2 separate regions of the Homo sapiens genome follow, and region 1 is linked to region 2. Evidence: promoter capture Hi-C in 16 types of primary human blood cells and fetal thymus (Javierre and others, 2016). All regions are on one chromosome and are shown on one strand. Each heading gives the region's core, a stretch centred on a gene start or on the middle of the fragment in contact. The rest is flanking DNA. Distances are from core to core; before and after follow the strand shown. Region 1 holds the start of OR1N2 (olfactory receptor family 1 subfamily N member 2). Region 2 holds the start of OR1J1 (olfactory receptor family 1 subfamily J member 1).

Region 1 (3,661 bases), core at 179-2,678, 75 kb before region 2:
AATAAATGTTTCTATTCTCCTTCCTTCACCTCATCCCATGCCTGCCTTGCTGGGGTAGAATTGCTCAGCTCCAGAGCCTCATAACAAATGCCTTGTTCACTATGGCTAATATGCTGGTTTTAGAGATGTGAGGAGGAATAGTAGTTTTGCTGTTAGTAATGGTTGCCTCACTGGGGTCAGGAAAGAGGCTGAGACAGAACATCTCATTCCACAGCCTAATAAAAGAATGAAACACTCTTTTTTTTTTTTTTACATCCCTAACTCAGAGTCAACGGATAACCTTCCCCTAATATCAACATGACAGTAGTAGAATTACTGAAGTGATGGAAGACAGGGAGGGGTTGATCAAGATTAGACATCACCGTCTAGATGTCTAATCATAAAAAGAATGTTTTTCCACTGACAAAAAGTTTACCCAAAGCCTCCTTCATGTCTCTGTTCCTCAAGCTATAAATGAATGGGTTTAGCGTGGGAATAATCACCATATAGAGAACAGCAGCCCTACTTTCCCTCTCTGTAGAGTAAGTTGATGGAGGAAGTAAATACACACCCATAAGAGACCCATAGAAGAGCAGAACCACCGTGAGATGAGAACCACAGGTAGAGAAGGCCTTCCATCTCCCTCCAGGAGATGAGATGACAAACACAGCCCAGAAAATGCGGACATAGGAGAAGACGATCAGCAGGAGGGGAACAGTGAGGAACAGCAAGCCCATGGTGATGATCATCAGCTCGTTTACATGGGTATCTGAGCAGGCAAGCTTCAGGAGAGCACTAGGATCACAATAGAAATGAGGGATGGCTTTCTGGGCACAGAAAGCCACGCGGGTCAGCAACAGTGTGTGCATCAGGGCAGGACAGTTGGTTAGCACCCAGCACACACCCAGCATTAGTGCACAGAGCTGGGGACTCATAGATGTGCTGTAATGGAGTGGTTGGCAGATGGCCACATAGCGGTCATATGCCATCACAGCCAGCAGGCAGTTGTCAAGGCCACCAAACATAAGGAGGAAATATAGCTGTGCAAGACACCCAGAATACGAGATGATCTGACTCTGGGTATGAATGTTGGCCAGCATTTTGGGGATGGAGGCAGAAGTGAAACAGGCATCAGTTAATGACAGGTTGGCCAGAAAGAAGTACATGGGAGTATGGAGGTGTGGGTCAGAGCTGATGGCCAGGATAATGAGCAGGTTCCCCACCATGGTGACCAGGTACATGCCAAGGAAGATGCCAAACAGAAGAGGCTGCTCCTCTGGCCACTCAGAGAGTCCTAGAAGGAGGAAGTCTGAAACAGTGGTTTGGTTCACTCTGCCTGGTTTTCCCATCCCTTGTAGTTCGTGTGATCTGCGCAGATAAAAACCTTCCATGTGTCAGTATTTATTTATTAGATCAATTTACAGATATGCATCTGTGTGGCCAGAACTGTGCTGGGAGAAAAAGAAAAGAAAAATAAATGGTCTTTGCCAATAAGAATCTCTGAATCTCACTGGGAATGCAAGGAAATACCCAAGAGACATTTAGAGAACAGTTAAGATAATATCCATTCAAATCTCAATTGTGCTTTGTATGCTATAGCAGAATCCAAAGAAAAGAGATTTGTTTGACCAGAGAAATTGGCATGGGCTATTTAGAGGAAGTGAGAATTGAGAATAGCTTGATGGCAAGATTAGAAAAGCCATTTGTTATTGTCAATTGGAAAGAAGATGCATGATCTCCATCAAACTCCTACCCCTCCTCCAACACACACACACACACACACACACACACACACACACACACACACACACTCAAGCCCTCTTTGTGGGGGCTGAAATTGACTTTTAAGACAAGATAGCTTCCTCCCCACTTGCCTTTCAGTGCTGAGAATTTGACCTCACCCATTCAAACCAGTCCTGTACTCTTTCCTAACTAGCGGCAAAGGATATGTGAGCTGAGGGCAGTAGGTGTCTGGTGTCGTACTCCCCCATCCACTGTTAGGATGTTCCCTCCCACACACACGCATACAAATAGGACAGGGAGCCACTCTCTCCCTTCCATCACTTCCTCTCCTTTATCCCTGTCCTCTTCCCTTTTTTGCTGCTATGCATCTCTATCTGCTCTGGGAACTGATATTTTAGTTCACCTGTGCCTTCACCCCTACATTTGTACTACATTTATCTAATATTTACTTTTAACCAGAGGGAGGGAAGGTGAAAGGTATCGCCCTGACTTTTTGGTTTGAAAATAACCAGTCTGTTTTTTTGCTGCCCTAGTGAGCTGGTAGGAGAAACCATTTCATATTGATCTTGTAGAAGTTTGGCCTTAGAAGCTTTTGTAACTATTTTAGTCCTCCATTTGTTCTTTGGTTCATAGAGAAGCTTCTGACCTTAGGCAGAGACTCAGCACTTTCCCAGGAAACTTTTGCCTGGTCACCTGATCATCGAACTGGGAAGGAAGGTGTATATGTGTGTGTGTGTGAGAGAGAGAGAGAGAGAGAGAGTGTATGTGTGTGTGTGTGTGTATGTGTCCTACCCCTTCCAAATCCTCACCTGTCAGATTATGGATCAGTTTTAGGCATCTTCAAATTCTCCAATTCTCTTCCTTGGATGGATAATTCATAATAAAAAACTCTGAGACCTTTCTGACTCAGAGGCAATAAAGTCGGGGTCTATTGAGTCCAGAGTTTATTAGAAATACCTGAAGTGTATGGCTCGATTTCAGCTTCCCCGGGCATAAGAAGACAGGAATATCTCTTAAGGTTATAAAGGCTCCTAGAACACCATCTCCCAATGTGCTCGTTAAGGTCGACCTCGGTGTCATTGTGCAGCCTGTTCTCCAGCCAACTCTGGCTGGATCCTAGGGGAGCTGAGGACCTCTCTTTCCCAGGGGTTAAGATCTCAAATGTGGGTCTCGGGAATGTGATTCTGAAGCCTCTTGCTGGCAATGCAGTGTACTTCAGCCTGACTAGCAGGTCACCTGGGAACTCCTGCCTATATGCATTAGGCAAGTCAGCACTTGTCCCATGTCCTAGGTAAAACTGCATTGAAGAAGAAATCAGGAGTATAAACTAAAACACAACTATTTCTGCTGGCGATTTCCTTAAAGAGAATAATCCTGATGGAAACAATACCCTCAAAAACTCCAAAACTCAATTAATGAGGCAACCTAAATAAAGCACACCAGCCATAGTGCCTCATACAAAGCAGCTGCTCAAAAAAAGCTACTTATATCTACTGTATTTTAATTAATTCTATTAAGTGGAGAGAGTGGAATCCCCACCTAGGTCTGTAATGACTCTGGAGTACATGCTATTATCCACTATGCTTTGTTCTAGTATCATTGTTGGTTTCAATCATAAGCAATTTCATAGGTCTAAAATAATCCAACTTTTTGTAGCTATTGTAAATGGGATTGAGGTCTTGATTTGGTTCTCAGCTTGATTGTTATTAGTGTGTAGAAATGCTACTGATTTTTGTACATTAATTTTGCATCATGAAACTTTACTCAATTCATTTATCAAATCTAGGAGTCTTCTGGAGGAATCTTTAAGGTATTCTAGGTATTAGATCATATCATCAGCAAACAAAGATACTTTGACTTCCTTTTTCCAATTTGGATGTCTTTTTTTTTTTTCCCTGATTGTTCTGGTTAAGGACTTCCAGTTAAGACTTCCAGTATC
Region 2 (3,431 bases), core at 507-3,006:
TGAGAAATTGTCTCGTCCTTCTGGTACTGGTATTTAGAATAGAGTAACAGCATCTGACAGCCTCGCTAATATCTGAATTTATTATGATGTGAAGTTTCCAAGTCTTTATGAATTTTTCGTAATTACACTATTAAATGTTTTAAAAGTGGTAGTGATTAAAGACTGAATTTAAGTTGTGTTTAATGCCTCATCAGTCAGTACCTTTGATATATTTCAAGATCAAGCAGGAATTTCTAATACAGCATCTGATGTCATATAGAAATGAGATACAAAACAATAAAACACAAAGGCCGAGAGACTGGAGGAGGAAATCCAAACTCATCAGCATTTTACTTACTCTGGCTTGACACAGTCAGTAAAATGCTTTGAAAGCCATCCTGGGGAAAAGACAAATTCTGAGTGGAACAATGAGATTTCAGTAGCATGGAGAAATTGATGAGATGGCTGAAATCCACTGAATGTGAAATCTCACTGAGCCAATGCTCCTTAGACATACTGTGAGAGGAATTCACCGCTGCGTCCCCAAGAGACATTGTCACATGTGTGGTTGAGCCTGGAGGAATATATATATGTTTTCGCGCTACACATTGATATTCAAACATAGAATTAAATATCTTACACTTATCTTAAACTTTAAAAAGATCAGAGCAATTAGGCTGGGTGCAGTGGCTCACACCTGTAACCCCAGCACTCTGGGAGGCTGAGGCGGGTGGATCATGAGGTCAGGAGTTCGAGACCAGCCTGACCAACATGGTGAAACTCCGTCTCTACTAAAAATAAAAAATTAGCTGGAAGAATCGCTTGAACCCAGGAGGCGGAGGTTACAGTGTGCCGAGATCTCACCACTGCACTCCAGCCTTGGCAACAGAGCGAGACTCTGTCTCAAACAAACAAACAAACAAAAAAAGATCAGAGCAATTATGTATGGATCTGAAACCATAAGAAAGATTTTCTATCTTGTTGCTTACTTCGTATTATGATTTATTTACCTGGACTTTCAACAGTACCACCCTCCCCACCTTCTAGAATAGTACATATATATCATGATAAAATATGTGGGTATGTCCTTTGAAAAATCACTCAAAATAACTTGTTTTGTTGTCTTTTGGAGTAATTGTTTACATGGAAGAGTTTTTTAATAAATAAAGTGTTATGTCTTAAAAAAAGATTAGGGGTCTATAAACAATGAATAAATTAGAAATAATCATGCACTGTGTAGACAAGCAGGGTATACAGAATTAAATAGGTCATTGCACACAAAATAAGGCAATGAGATTTCCAATGTCAAATAATTGCTTTGTTTCCACAGAAGAAACTATGGAGTCAAGATACTTCGGTCCAAATCCCAGCTTCTCCTCTTCCTATTGCTGTGACTATAAGACTGTCTGCCTTAGCTTTCACATCTAAAGAGTAGAAATAATAACAGTACCACCCAGCTCATATATTGAAGGCTATTGAATCACTTACAATACATCAGCTATTGGAACAGTGTATTAAAAAACATTTAGCAAACAACTTTTAGTACTATCATTTACAGAGACCAGATTCAGAAAGAAAGTAGCTATATCGACTAAACCTTCATTTCTTTTTCAGCACATTTGCAGCAAAATATGTGGCAAATGTAAGAAAATATGAAGACATTCTCTAAGTCAAAAGAACATCTCTATTATACTATGCCACAGTTATCATTTCTTATTCCAAGACATACCATTTTTTTCCTTCAAATTTCCCTAGTGCCCTCCAGCTGATATAAACATGAGCCCTGAGAACCAGAGCAGCGTGTCCGAGTTCCTCCTCCTGGGCCTCCCCATCCGGCCAGAGCAGCAGGCCGTGTTCTTCGCCCTGTTCCTGGGCATGTACCTGACCACGGTGCTGGGGAACCTGCTCATCATGCTGCTCATCCAGCTAGACTCTCACCTTCACACCCCCATGTACTTCTTCCTTAGCCACTTGGCCCTCACTGACATCTCCTTTTCATCTGTCACTGTCCCTAAGATGCTGATGAACATGCAGACTCAGCACCTAGCCGTCTTTTACAAGGGATGCATTTCACAGACATATTTTTTCATATTTTTTGCTGACTTAGACAGTTTCCTTATCACTTCAATGGCATATGACAGGTATGTGGCCATCTGTCATCCTCTACATTATGCCACCATCATGACTCAGAGCCAGTGTGTCATGCTGGTGGCTGGGTCCTGGGTCATCGCTTGTGCGTGTGCTCTTTTGCATACCCTCCTCCTGGCCCAGCTTTCCTTCTGTGCTGACCACATCATCCCTCACTACTTCTGTGACCTTGGTGCCCTGCTCAAGTTGTCCTGCTCAGACACCTCCCTCAATCAGTTAGCAATCTTTACAGCAGCATTGACAGCCATTATGCTTCCATTCCTGTGCATCCTGGTTTCTTATGGTCACATTGGGGTCACCATCCTCCAGATTCCCTCTACCAAGGGCATATGCAAAGCCTTGTCCACTTGTGGATCCCACCTCTCAGTGGTGACTATCTATTATCGGACAATTATTGGTCTCTATTTTCTTCCCCCATCCAGCAACACCAATGACAAGAACATAATTGCTTCAGTGATATACACAGCAGTCACTCCCATGTTGAACCCATTCATTTACAGTCTGAGAAATAAAGACATTAAGGGAGCCCTAAGAAAACTCTTGAGTAGGTCAGGCGCAGTGGCTCATGCCTGTAATCTCAACACTTTGGGAGGCTGAGGCAGACGGATCACCTGAGATCAGGAGTTCGAGACCAGCCTGGCCAACATGGCGAAACCCAGTCTCTACTAAAAATACAAAAAAATTAGCCGGGCATGGTGGTGCATGCCTATAGTCCCAGCTACTCGGGAGACTGAGGCAGAAGAATCACTTGAACCCAGGAGGCGGAGGTTGCAGTGAGCCAAGATCGTGCCACTGCACTCCAGCCTGGGTGACAGAGCAAGACTCTGTCAAAAAAAAGAAAAAAGAAAAAAAAATTATTGAGTAAAAAAAAACCATTATTCTAACTGATATTTACCTTTCTTTTAAAACATCCCATGTAATATTTTTCCTCAATAATACAGAAATACAAATTATTGAAAATATAGCTCACTTGTCTTTCTTCCACAGCTGTCACTCTGAAATGCTTTCCTGATATTATTATTGCATCTGTTTGAGGGAATAGTAAAATAGGATATGTTGTATAGGACTTTGTTTGCTCTTTTCTTGGGTAATGGAATTGGAAAATATTCTGAGCATGTTATGTCACTTTGGCTGGTATGAAAAGGAAGCCATCAGGGCTGACCTTTCCCAGATTTTAAATTTGTTATAAAATGTGTCTGGCCCTTCACACCTCTATTTCTTAGGAATTTTCCACTTTTGTGAAGATATGGCTCCTCTTTCGCCCAGGCACCAGATATCCAGGAAGCTGAAGCCCTTTCAGAAAT

Evidence for each region. Contacts are between HindIII fragments. The CHiCAGO score rates a contact against its expected background, and 5 or more counts as called.
Region 1: a contact is called between the fragment with the promoter of OR1N2 here and the fragment with the promoter of OR1J1 in region 2, in 1 of 17 cell types (neutrophils). The highest score is 5.6, in neutrophils.

What each region holds. Positions count from the first base shown.
Region 1 is chr9:122,550,879-122,554,539 of GRCh38, reverse strand. OR1N2 (olfactory receptor family 1 subfamily N member 2) reads right to left here and starts at 1,428. Exons shown (of 1, transcript NM_001004457.2): 1 at 326-1,428. The coding sequence starts at 1,328. The coding sequence ends at 378. It also overlaps a transcript of OR1J2 not described here and a transcript of OR1L8 not described here. The HindIII fragment of the contact is 1,550 bases long and covers 764-2,313 here.
Region 2 is chr9:122,476,251-122,479,681 of GRCh38, reverse strand. It overlaps OR1J1 (olfactory receptor family 1 subfamily J member 1), which reads left to right and starts at 1,756. Exons shown (of 1, transcript NM_001004451.1): 1 at 1,756-2,724. The coding sequence starts at 1,756. The coding sequence ends at 2,724. It also overlaps a transcript of OR1J2 not described here. The HindIII fragment of the contact is 5,266 bases long and covers 1-3,431 here.